Linked DNA regions of Homo sapiens: regions 1 and 3 are each linked to region 2. Evidence: promoter capture Hi-C in 16 types of primary human blood cells and fetal thymus (Javierre and others, 2016). All regions are on one chromosome and are shown on one strand. The core of a region is centred on a gene start or on the middle of the fragment in contact, and the rest is flanking DNA. Distances in the headings are between cores, read along the strand shown.

Region 1 (4,229 bases), core at 1,510-4,009, 2.2 Mb after region 2:
GACAGAGTTGAGCTAAACATACACCACAATTCTTCCCATATTTCTCAAACAAATGAGTCATTCCACCACCCCAGAGACACAGTGAGTAAAGAAACAGAGAGAGACCCAGAGTTGTGATAAATGGGCTCCCTTTAGAGGAAGAAACATATGAGTAGGAAAGAAAAATTCTCACTAAATAGTTCTCATTCCATGTGCACTGGCAATGCACCAGCTCTCAGTAATCTGTGCATTTCTCCCAGGCAGTATTTGCTTTTATTTTCTGCTTTTGCTGCATTTTTGTCCCCTCATATCTCATCTTCTATGACTGGTCTCTTCTGTTCACCCTGTGCCAGCCTAAACATGAAACAGTCATTTTCCTTTTAATTCCCCGAAGAAACTATGAAAAGGAAGCCATTAAGTTTAGAAGACTTACTGAAGATAACAGACAGCTCAAGGCTAGATACTTTAATACTTTAAGGCTAGATACTGAGAAGATTTAGGACTCCAGCTATGATAAAATAGCTTGCATCACCTAGCCCTTTCTTCAAAAGTAACTATAAACGCTCCCTCTCCCCCTCCCCCTCCCCCTCCCTCTCTCCCCTTTGCATGGTCTCCCTCTGATGCCAAGCGGAGGCTGGACTGTACTGCCGCCATCTCAGCTCACTGCAACCTCCCTGCCTGATTCTCCTGCCTCAGCCTGCCGAGTGCCTGGGATTGCAGGCACGCACCGCCACGCCTGACTGGTTTTCGTATTTTTTGGTGGAGACGGGGTTTCGCCGTGTTGGCCGGGCTGGTCTCCAGCTCCTGACCGCGCGTGATCTGCCAGCCTCGGCCTCCCGAGGTGCCAGGATTGCAGACGGAGTCTCGCTCGCTCAGTGCTCAATATTGCCCATGCTGGAGTGCAGTGGCGTGATCTCGGCTCGCTACAACCTCCACCTCCCAGCCGACTGCCTTGGCCTCCCAAAGTGCCGAGATTGCAGCCTCTGCCCGGCCGCCACCCTGTCTAAGAAGTGAGGAGCGTCTCTGCCCGGCTGCCCATCATCTGGGATGTGAGGAGCCCCTCTGCCTGGCCGTCCAGTCTGGGAAGTGAGGAGCACCTTTTCCCGGCCGTCATCCCGTCTAGGAAGTGAGGAGCGTTTCTGCCCGGCCGCCCATCGTCTGGGATGTGGGGAGCACCTCTGCCCGGCCGCCCCGTCTGGGAAGTGAGGAGCCCCTCTGCCCGGCAGCCACCCCGTCTGGGAGGTTTACCCAACAGCACATTGAGAACGGGCCATGATGACGATGGCGGTTTTGTCAAATAGAAAGGGGGGAAGTGTGGGGAAAAGAAAGAGAGATCGGATTGTTACTGTGTCTGCGTGGAAAGAAGTAGACATAGGAGACTCCATTTTGTTCTGTACTAAGAAAAATTCTTCTGCCTTGGGATGCTGTTAATCTATAACCTTACCCCCAACCCCGTGCTCTCTGAAACATGTGCTATGTCCACTAAGGGTTAAATGGATTAAGGTCCGTGCAAGATGTGCTTTGTTAAACAGATGCTTGAAGGCAGCATGCTCGTTAAGAGTCATCACCACTCCCTAATCTCAAGTACCCAGGGACACAAACACTGCGGAAGGCGGCAGGGCCCTCTGCCTAGGAAAACCAGAGACCTTTGTTCACATGTTTATCTGCTGACCTTCCCTCCACTATTGTCCTATGACCCTGCCAAATCCCCCTCTCCGAGAAACACCCAAGAATGATCAATAAATACTAAAAAAATTTAAAAAAAAATTATAAACGTTGCACAAAATACATAAAGCAATTGCCTGAAGGCACTGGAGACACCAAGCACAAGCGAGATTTAAAGAAAACCCTATGGCATGAGGTCCACATACATTCCAGATATTCTCTTGAGGACATGTACACACTGCAGAATAGGGATATACAAATACAACAGTCTTAGTGGGCTGAGAAAGTAGAAGTAAGAATTTGGAGCTGCCAAAGCAGGCAGGACTTAGGAAAGTCCTGAAGAAGGGAAACAACAAAGGTGCCTACAATTCTGCAAACTTATTTCCCTAAAGTTTATGGGTTCCTAAGCTGGCACACAAAATATGAAACAAGAAATAAAGAAATAGAAGGAGAGAAAGACACAAAGAAAGAGAGGGGGGAGGAAGGGAGGGAGGAGGGAGAGAGGAAAAGAAGGAAGGAAAGAAGGGAGGGAGAGAGGGAGGGGAGGAGAGAGAGAAAAGAAAGAAAGGAGAGAAAGAGAAAAGAAAGGAAAGAAAGAAGAAAGAAAGAGAAAGAAAGAAAGAAAGATAAAGAAAGAAAGAGAAAGAAAGAAAGAGAGAAGGAAGGGAAGGAGGGAGACAGGAAGGAAGGAATGAAGGAAGGGAGGCAGGGAGGGAGGGAAGGAGGATAGCTGAAGATCTGATCAGAGATTTCAGTACTAGGGAGGCAAAGGTCATAATTAAAACCTTTCCAAAATAGAAAAACCTTGGCGAATGTTCCAGGCTTTGAACCGTCCAGGCTTTGAACCAAATTATGGAAATCCAAGTAGAAATTTATTTAAAGTAAATAGATTTATAGGTGAATCAGATGTTAACAATAACTGACAGGGAGTTTAAAATAACTGTGATTAATATGGTCAAGAGAATGGAGAAAATGATAGACAAAATGGAAGAAAGGTTGGAGAATTTCATTGGGGAAATGAATCTATTTTTAAAAAGAGACAAACAATTGGTAAAATTTTTAAAGCACCAAAAACATCAATTATGTAGAATAAATCTGATAGAAGTTGTATAAGATCTCTACGATGAAAACTACAGATAGTTGCTGAGAGAAGTAAAAGAAGATCTAAGTAAATGACAGGTAATATCATGAACATGGAATTCAAAGATGCAACAGTCTTAAGATATCAAGTCATTCCAAATGGATATATAAATTCAATGCAATCCCAATAAAAATGCTATCAATTTTTTTGGTAGAAATTGATAAGCTATTTGTAAAATTGATATGGAAATAAAAAGAACTCTGAATAGCTAAGGCAATACTGAAGAAAAAAGACAAAACCTGATATCAAAGCTAGAGAAATTAAAACAGTATGGTACTGGAACAAGAAAAGACAACAGATCATGGAATAAATTAGACTTCAGAAACAGACCCACATCCATAGGATTTATGATAAATCTGATTTATGATAAAGGCATCACAGAAACTCAGTGGAGAAAGAATTATCTTTTCAATAAATGGTGGTGGTTCAAGTGTATATTCATATGGGAAAAAAAGACTCTTGTCCCTTACCTCACATTATACACAAAAATTAATTCAAGGTAGATCATATATCTAAAGACGAAAAGTAAAACAATAAAAATTCTAGAAGAAAACACAGTAAATATGTTCAGGGACCTCAGGTTAGGCCATAGTTTCTTAGACAGAACACATGGAAATACTGATAAATTGGATTTAATTAAAATAAAGAAATTCTGTTCAATGAATGACATGGTTAAGAGAATGGAAAAAGCAAACCTCAGACTGGTATAAAATATTTGTTATTCAGACATTTGCATGCACACACACATATGGCAAAGAATTTATATCTAGACTATATTCTTGTATAAAAGTTCTATAAATTGATAAGAAAAAGATATACAACACAATTTTTAATGTTGAGCCAGAATCCTGAACAAGCACTCCACAAAAGAGGATATGAAAATGATCAATATGCAAATGAGAAAGGTGTTCAGCATCATTATTCATGAGAAACAAAACACATCTTGATACCATGTGCTGCTTTGTAGTCTAGAAATGCCAATATCTCCCCTTGAAAAAGCAATTACAAAGCCACAGCTCTGAATACCAGAAAGTGAATTAGAATAAGTGTCAATTATTATAAACAGCCTTGTTTAATTTGGGGAATGGGGTTTCTGCTAAGGTTTTTCATCTTGCAGTGAACGGATTTTGATTCTCTATTGCAGTTATTTAAGTCACTCTTGCCAGCCTAGTGCAAAAAGTGAAAAGTCATAACAGAAACCTTACTCTTGGAATTAAACAGGGCTGCTCACAATTGTTGAAATCCATCTGAATTCACATTCTCATATTCAAAGCTGTGGTTTTGCAATTGCTTTCTTACAAAGAAACTGGAAAAATAAGGCTGCAGGGGTTGAGAATTGTGACCATTTTTGCAATCTAGCATAATGGCTACAAGCACAGGTTCAGGAGCCAGAAAACCTGGGTTTTAATCACTGTTCTGCCGCAGTAGCTGTGTCTTAGTTTCC
Region 2 (4,014 bases), core at 1,515-4,014:
CTGTCCACATGATGGCACCACAACCCCAAAAAAATCATGTTCTCAGTCGGAAAGAAGACAACATAAGATTTACACAGCGTTAATATTTTATTAAATGCCTCCATGTTGTGGCAGACAGACCTGAATTTCACATGGAATGTTCAACAGTTTATCAAATACTGAAGTCCATTTGGTAAAGATACATACCATAGTGTATGCTAATCAAAGAAGAAATTGACATTTAAAAAAAAATCATGACAATCTATTCTTCAGTTTTTTATCTTAGGCCACAAATGAATACACATACACATACACACATATGTATACATATACAGTTTATTATCAACCATAAAGACATGGTGTGTAAACTAGCTTTGATAAATTCTAGTAATATTTTCTAAACCTGCAAGCCTTCTACATCTTAGAGAGTAGGTTTGCACAAATCTGGGAAGCAAAGGTCACCCCTGGGCTTATGAATAAAGAGGATAATTACGTAATTCTGAATTTCCACCCCTAAGCCCCACCCCTTATTCCATCCCTGACAATCTTGGGGTTAAAGTCTATTGTCACTTATGAGAAACATGCCTGGACTTGCCCTGCACTCTTTAAAGAATCAAAAACGGAAGTGACAGCAAAGACTTTCCCTTTCTCCTCGCTAATGGCAAAGCCTTTCCCTTTCTCCTCTCTAATGGCAATAAGCCTCTTTTCCACATTATGCTGGAAGTATTTGAGACACAGTATTTTTGTAAATGTTCGATTAATGTTGATACCACACATACCTAAATTTGACAGTGGACTGCAGCAACTTTTTGTATGTACCTTCCAGGGATTCAATAATCTGGTATTCTAAATTTCTCTGGAATTTAGCTTCAAAAAACTATTTACCATATCCTGTTAACATAGGTAAAAAGATTCAAGTGTGCTGCTAATTAACCTAACCTCGATGATCTAGTAAAAATATACAATAATTACCTAAGTTCTCCAAGCCTCATCTATAAAATGGGAATAATAATGTAGGAGATGAGAATATGCCACCCCAAATATGGCCCTGGGATAAAGATTATTTTAAGATAATTATTTTGAGAACCAGCAGACCCAGGAAATGCTCTAAAAATGGCATATTACCCTTTCGTAAGGGAAACGTACATTCACTAAAAAAAAAAACAACAAAAACAAAAAACAAAAAAACCCCACAAAACTCCATTTGTAAAAGTGTCTCCTCTGTACCAGGAAGAATGACTCTAAATCATGAAAAACTTATCAATGAAGAAATAAGAAACCCCACTCCTGTTTACCGTACATTTCCTGGTCATGATTCCTTAACTTGCCTGCCCCACTCTTTTCTTTTGGTTTAGCTAAAGATAGTATTTAAGCCCGATTTTAAACCATCTCTAATTTTCCTGGTTATCTCCCATGTATATATGAGACGTATATGTTAATAAGCTTCTTTGTTTTCTTGTTAATCTGTCTGGTTACAGCGACCCAGGCCAAAACTTTGAAAGGTGGAAAATTATTTTTCCTTCCTTACAATATTTCTCTCAGAATTGTTGTAGGATGAAATAAGGCATTTAAAAATACTGCACAGTCCTCAATAAATGTTACTCTATCGTAATTAGAACAAGAAAAACAAACAAAAAAACGTGTTCCTAGATTAGTCAAACTGCACAGCAAAATCTGGAAATGGGAAACTAAGCTGTGTTTGCACTCACTGGCCTACGCTCCTCTCTTCATCCTACCAATCTCCCTACCCCAGAAAGTCTCAGATTGACTCTCCAGGAACCAGGGCAGCTCATGAGCCATCTCAACAGATGCATTCGGAAGAAGTCATAGATGACTCTGATTGGAAACTCACAATCGGCATCGATGTTTAGTACTAGTAACTGTCAAAGGCCCACGGTTGTCAACCGCTGCCCACTTCGACACCTAACGGCATTCCGGAACATTCCACAAGATGGCGCCCTTGCTTTCCAATCTTCGGGCTACGGGCGGAGGACGCCTTGCCAGGACGCCGACCTCGCTCTGCAAGGTTCAGGGGCCGACCTCAGACAGAGGCTCGCTCTAGGGGCATGGGCGGGGGCCAGACGGGCCTCGAGTGGGATCCTGGCACGGTTGGCCGATCGGCCCGGGATCCCGGCTGCGGGCCCGTGTCTGCCCTAGCGCGATGGGCTCGAATGCCCGGCTCCACGAATCCCGGCCTTTCACCCCCACGGCCTCTCGGCACTGCCCCAGCTAGACACCAGCGAGCTCGTCACAGCGCGGGCAGGCACTGCGGGGCAGCTGCAGACGAGCCCTGTCATACGGCCGGAGGAGGCCTCGCCTGCCCGTGCGGCGGGCTCCGGGCACCCTGATACCTTGACACAGGAGGCCCCGGGCGGCCGGGAAGGGCTGTGCGGGGGAGGGACTGCGTCTACACCCGCGCCCGACTCGCTCGGGTCACGGCACTGCCCTGCCACCAGGCGGCTGGGGCGGGGGTGAGGCCAGGCGTCGGCCCTCGCGATTCTGTTTTGTACGCTGAGGCTCGGAGCCTTCGAAGAACGGGACAGCGGGGCCCACGGACGGCTCTGAAGGCCTTCCCGCGGCCGCAAGAGATCTCGGCGGCCGGCGTTTGAGGCGCGCGGCTCCGCTGGGAAGCGAGACCCGGGTGGCGGGACAAGACTTGCTTCCCGGCCACGCGCGCTCGGCCGGCCGTGGGGCGGGGCATAGGCCGTGACGTGATGTCGCGTATCGAGTCTCCGCCCCCTTCCCGCCTCCCCGTATATAAGACTTCGCCGAGCGCTCTCACTCGCACAAGTGGACCGGGGTGTTGGGTGCTAGTCGGCACCAGAGGCAAGGGTGCGAGGACCACGGCCGGCTCGGACGTGTGACCGCGCCTAGGGGGTGGCAGCGGGCAGTGCGGGGCGGCAAGGCGACCATGGAGCTTTTGCGGACTATCACCTACCAGCCAGCCGCCAGCACCAAAATGTGCGAGCAGGCGCTGGGCAAGGGTTGCGGAGCGGACTCGAAGAAGAAGCGGCCGCCGCAGCCCCCCGAGGAATCGCAGCCACCTCAGTCCCAGGCGCAAGTGCCCCCGGCGGCCCCTCACCACCATCACCACCATTCGCACTCGGGGCCGGAGATCTCGCGGATTATCGTCGACCCCACGACTGGGAAGCGCTACTGCCGGGGCAAAGTGCTGGGAAAGGTGACAAGCGGAGGGCGCCGGGCTGCCGGGCGGGCGGGAGGTCTGTCCGGGCGACCCCAAGCCGGGCAAGCCCGCGGGGTCCCTCGCCCGCCGCTTCCGGGTTTTTCGGGGGTCCGATCCCAGCGCGAGGTGGGCTCCTCACCTGCCCTCTGGCTTTTGTGCGCCGGCAGCGCTGGGGATCGGCTTTGCATTCTTAGCCTCAGAACTGTGTGTCTCCCGCAGCCCAGAGAAATGCATCTTGAGTCTGGAAGCGAGGGCTTTCTACATCAGACCTCTCTCCCTCTATCTGCTCCCAGGGAATTTTCCTGACAAGTCTCATCAGAGATTATTTTTCATGTCTCCCCGTTCCAACTCCCTCCATAAAGCTCCCCTTTATAAAAGAAGAAGAGAAACTGTTTGAACTTGCTGTTTCCAGCAATGCATTTCTCTTCATGAGGGAGCTTTAACGAAGTCGAATGCCTCCCTCTGTCCACCCTCCTCCATTCCTCAATTTTTTTTTTTTTGCTTTTCTTTCTTCCCATTTATTTATTTATTTAAAATATCTGCCGTCCATTTTTGTGCCATCCTCAATTCCGTCTCGGCTTTGTTTCCTTTCAGGGTGGCTTTGCAAAATGTTACGAGATGACAGATTTGACAAATAACAAAGTCTACGCCGCAAAAATTATTCCTCACAGCAGAGTAGCTAAACCTCATCAAAGGGAAAAGGTGCGTATGACTCTTGAGTAAAGTATTTTCTTTGTGTGCAAGGATGGCCCTTCCCTGTTAGGAAAATGTCTTCTGCATGTGTAATCACTGGCTTTTCCGAGGTGACTGGAAGCTAATAAGCCTTACCTTGCTTTTTCATTTAGATTGAC
Region 3 (3,923 bases), core at 735-3,234, 2.5 Mb after region 2:
CCTACTAGCACATACATTTGCTCTGACCCTATAGAGCAACCCCTGCAAAAGAGGTCAATGTGTCCCACTTTCCTGAGAATGCACCCTCACACGACCCCTGGAGTCTCATTCTTTTGGCCAAAGAAAGACTCCTCTAATGGTGGAATCTAGCCCATGGCAACTAGTGACAGGAGGATCTCCGGCAGGGGCTTTTCCTGGGTGCTCAGACCACGGTCCTACCCCAGGTGGTTCTGTCCACAGACTTCCCCGGGCCCGCTGCCTAGCGCGAGCACCCGTTCCAGCCTGCCTCACCTTCACGGTGCCGCCAGCCACTCCTCTCCATCTCCTGCCACTCCCAGAGGGGCTGCCTGCTGCTGCCCCGCTGTGCTGACCTCATTCCCCACATTTGCTTTCTGTCCTTTTGGGGCCTCGCTGGACCTTTCCAACCCCCCAGCTGCACACTTTATAGTTTCCAGAACATACTGAGTTTCTTCTAACCTAGCCCATGCACATGATTTCCTCCCCTAGAATGTTCTCCAGTCCCCAGTCCCTGTTAAGCTGGGAAATTCTTACTGGTTCACCAAAAATCAACTCAAATAGATACCCTCTTGAGGGAAATCTTCCATTCTTCTCTCTCCTTCCCCCTGAGTTAAGGGCCTTCTATATCCTGGCACCTACTGCTGGGCCTCTGGAGAGAGGGCCCCAGCTCAGTCCTCTCCTGGCCCAGCATAGTGCTCGGTGTTTGGCAGAGCTTGCTTATATGAACAGGTAAGTGGGTGAATAAACAAGTTATTTTTAATTTTAAAAAATGTTTAAAATGTGTCTCAGGTTTCTTCTAATCCAGAGTTGCACAGTGCCATAGGCAGTCAGGAATCTGCCTCCTTCGCATCTCAAACCTGGGATCATTTCCTGATTCCCATCCCACCCTGGCTACAGGCAAGAGCTTCCCCCAACCAAGAGAGAGAGAGTCTTGCTCTGTTGCCCAGGCTCAAGCAATCCTCCCACCTCAGCCTCTCAAGTAGCTCAGACTACAGGCAGCACTGCCATGCCCGGCTAATTTTTCTTTTTTCTTTTTTGTAGACACGGGCTCACTTTGTTGGCCAGGCTGGTCTCAAATGCCTGGCTTCAAGCTATCTTCCATCCTTGGCCTTCCAAAGTGCTGTGATTACATCTCTGAACCACCGTGCCTTGGCAAGAGCTTTCATTTGAAGCAAAATATATACTCAATCCAAAAGCAAAAATTTAGAGAAAATTAAAGTCAGATGGATCCTTATTAAATCATTTTATCCAAACTCCTCATCCTGGACGAGGAAAATGAGGTCCAGAGAAGAGGGGCCAGCAAACTTTCCAACAGCACAGGAGAAAACGCTGGGTTTGTGGGTTATAAAAGGACGGCCCTGCCCTTTGGGAAGTTACTGTCTAGTGAGGAAGACGGAGTGAACCAGGATCAGGCTCCGCCTTAAGAACACATCAGAAAGTGCAAGTAGGCTCAGGCCCTACAAACCAGGCTACGACCAACCCCTGGCCAAACACCAGGCAGCTCCCAGTATAAAACAATCCCCCAATTCCTCAACGAGAAGATCCCAAGAAAAGTTTTTGGACAGCTTAACTGTGTGAGCTTTACAGATGTTGATTAAATAGTCAGATGTCTGCCTATGATCCATATTTTAAATAAGATGATGTGGAACAATGCAGAAATATAGAATTGATTTTGTTCACTCGTACTTTATGAAGATAGTTCCATGCAACTCTTCACTTGCAATTGGACACTGAGGTCCTTCCTCGTCATTACCAGATCCCCTTTGTGAATCATAGGCACAGGTTTTGGGAGCTCGTTCCTAACATTTCCATCTAGTTGTGTGAGAGACAGCAGACAATGCTGTCGTGGAAAACAGTATTCAAGCCTTAAGTATCCACTTTTATCTTAAGAGACTTTCCCCCCATCCCAGTAATGTAACCTGTTACCATTTTGCTTTTTAAAATGGTCTTTAAAAAACTTTACACTGAAATCTAACCTAGTTAATATTGAGATCATATCCCAGGAATAATGACTAAATCCCTTGTCTCCTTTTATGCCAGTTCCTTCTGGTGATCTCCGTGTGATTCTCAAAATTAAAAATTAACATTGGATGAGGTCATTTTAGTGAATGGGTCTTTCGCAAACAGAACTTTTGTGTTTAAATAACGAAGAGAGGCCAAGCACAGAGGCTCACGCCTGTAATCCCAGCACTTTCGGAGGCCAAAGTGGGCAGATCACTTGAGGTCAGGAATTTGAGACCAGCCTGGCCAACATGGTGAAACCCCGTCTCTACTAAAAATACAAGAATTAGCCTGGCGTGGTGGTGCGGCACCTGTAATCCCAGCTACTTGGGTGCCTGAGGCAGGAGAATCACTTGAACCCGGGAGGCGGAGGCTGCAGTGAGCCAAGGTCATGCCACTGCACTCCAGCCTGGGTGACAGGGCGAGAATCTGTCTCAGAAAAATAATAAATAAATAAATAAGAAGAGAGAAACTGTGATATGAGAAACTTTGTAAGTACTTTACTAAAGCACTCCCTCTTTTTTGGGGAAAGATTTTTCAGAAAACATTTTATGTTCGGGCAAAAAGCTGTGCTCATCGGGATGCCTTCCTGGAGGAAAAGCATCTTCTGTAGAATTTTGTCGTGCAGGCATGAGCTGGTGACCAGGAGAGCCAGCAGTGTGCACAAACTGTTTTCAAATCAATGTTGCCTCAGTTCTCTGGGTCAGACTAAACTATAATTCTTATTGTTACAATGAGACTTGTATTTCAGGACTGGCCGGAAGAATTTTTGTTGACCCCTCTGAGCAACATCTAGATATTCCCTGCCCTCTTTCCAGCCCTTTGCCAAAGATGTGACTTCAAGCAAGGAGGACCCCTCAGTCCTCATATCTCCATCAGCCCCAGCAGGGACACAGATGGATTTATCTACAACCCATGCTCAAGTGCTCGTGGGGAGGTAATCTTACACTTTTTCTACTCCCAGGACAGAAAGGAATGCCCAAGGTGGCACCTAATCATACACCTCTGACCTTGAGGCAGGTTCAAAAGAGACGTCTAATCACCACCGTGTTTTTGAAACACAATCTCATGCTGTGGCCCAGGCTGGAGTGCAGTTATGCGCTCTTAGGTAACTGCAACCTCGAATTCATGGGCTGGAGCAATCCTCCTGCCTCAGCCCCCAAAGCAACTGGGATGACAGACGTGTGCCACCAGACCTGGCTAATTTTTTAAAAAAAGTTTTGTAGGGATGGAGTGTCACTATGTTGCCCAGGCTAGCCTCAACATCCTGGCCTCAAGTGATGCTCCTGCCTTGGCCTCCCAAAGTGCTGAGATTACAGTTGTGAGCCACTGTGCCAGTCCAACCACAACATTTTTACTACATTTAAGGCAACATCAAACAGGTTTCTGTCTTCTCCAATAGAGTCATGTGTGAATGTAAGCCAGCCCCATTTCCAAACAAGGAGGCTTTCTTCGTGCAGATAATTCTGCAGGTGTCAGATTTTCTACTGATTCCATGCTAAATGAAAGGTCACAATCTGGTGATGTCAAAGGGCCTCCCGTAGCAGAGAGAAGAGTAAGAAACACAGTGGGTGAGATAAGAGAGGTACCCAGGGCACACAGTCATGGGAGGTACTTGGTGCCCTTGCGTGACCCCGAAAGTGAGCACCTCCTTCTGTTGGGAGCCCTAGACTTGCCCCAGTCCAGGCCCTGCTTGGTGATGATGTCACCAGCTGGGGAGCTGGGCTTTCCGTCATTCATCCCATGAGATGGGGACTATTCTAGTTCTTTCTTGTCTTTGAGATTATTGTAACACCTACTTGAGGAATGGACAAGAGAGGGTAAGCCTGAGACAGGACACTACTCAGGAGCACTTTTCTCATCAGGGTGAAGTCTGAAGGGGGCTGAGGCCAGGAGAAAAATAG

What was found. The method cuts DNA at HindIII sites, captures the fragments that hold promoters and counts their contacts. A CHiCAGO score of 5 or more calls a contact.
Region 1: a contact is called between a fragment that was not itself captured here and the fragment with the promoter of PLK2 in region 2, in 1 of 17 cell types (total B cells). The highest score is 5.4, in total B cells.
Region 3: a fragment that was not itself captured here is called in contact with the fragment with the promoter of PLK2 in region 2 in 2 of 17 cell types (total B cells and naive B cells); the score reaches 24.2 in total B cells.

What each region holds. Positions count from the first base shown.
Region 1 is chr5:56,255,197-56,259,425 of GRCh38, reverse strand. No RefSeq gene overlaps it. Among named protein-coding and RNA genes, the nearest start is that of ANKRD55, 24 kb to the right of the region's middle. RefSeq lists an enhancer at 1,300-1,807. The HindIII fragment of the contact is 8,279 bases long and covers 1-4,229 here.
Region 2 is chr5:58,458,836-58,462,849 of GRCh38, reverse strand. PLK2 (polo like kinase 2) reads left to right here and starts at 2,764. Exons shown (of 14, transcript NM_006622.4): 1 at 2,764-3,160; 2 at 3,758-3,865; 3 at 4,009-4,014. The coding sequence starts at 2,891. RefSeq lists a silencer at 2,267-2,446. The HindIII fragment of the contact is 4,873 bases long and covers 1,425-4,014 here.
Region 3 is chr5:55,929,967-55,933,889 of GRCh38, reverse strand. No RefSeq gene overlaps it. Among named protein-coding and RNA genes, the nearest start is that of IL6ST, 63 kb to the left of the region's middle. The HindIII fragment of the contact is 5,639 bases long and covers 1-3,923 here.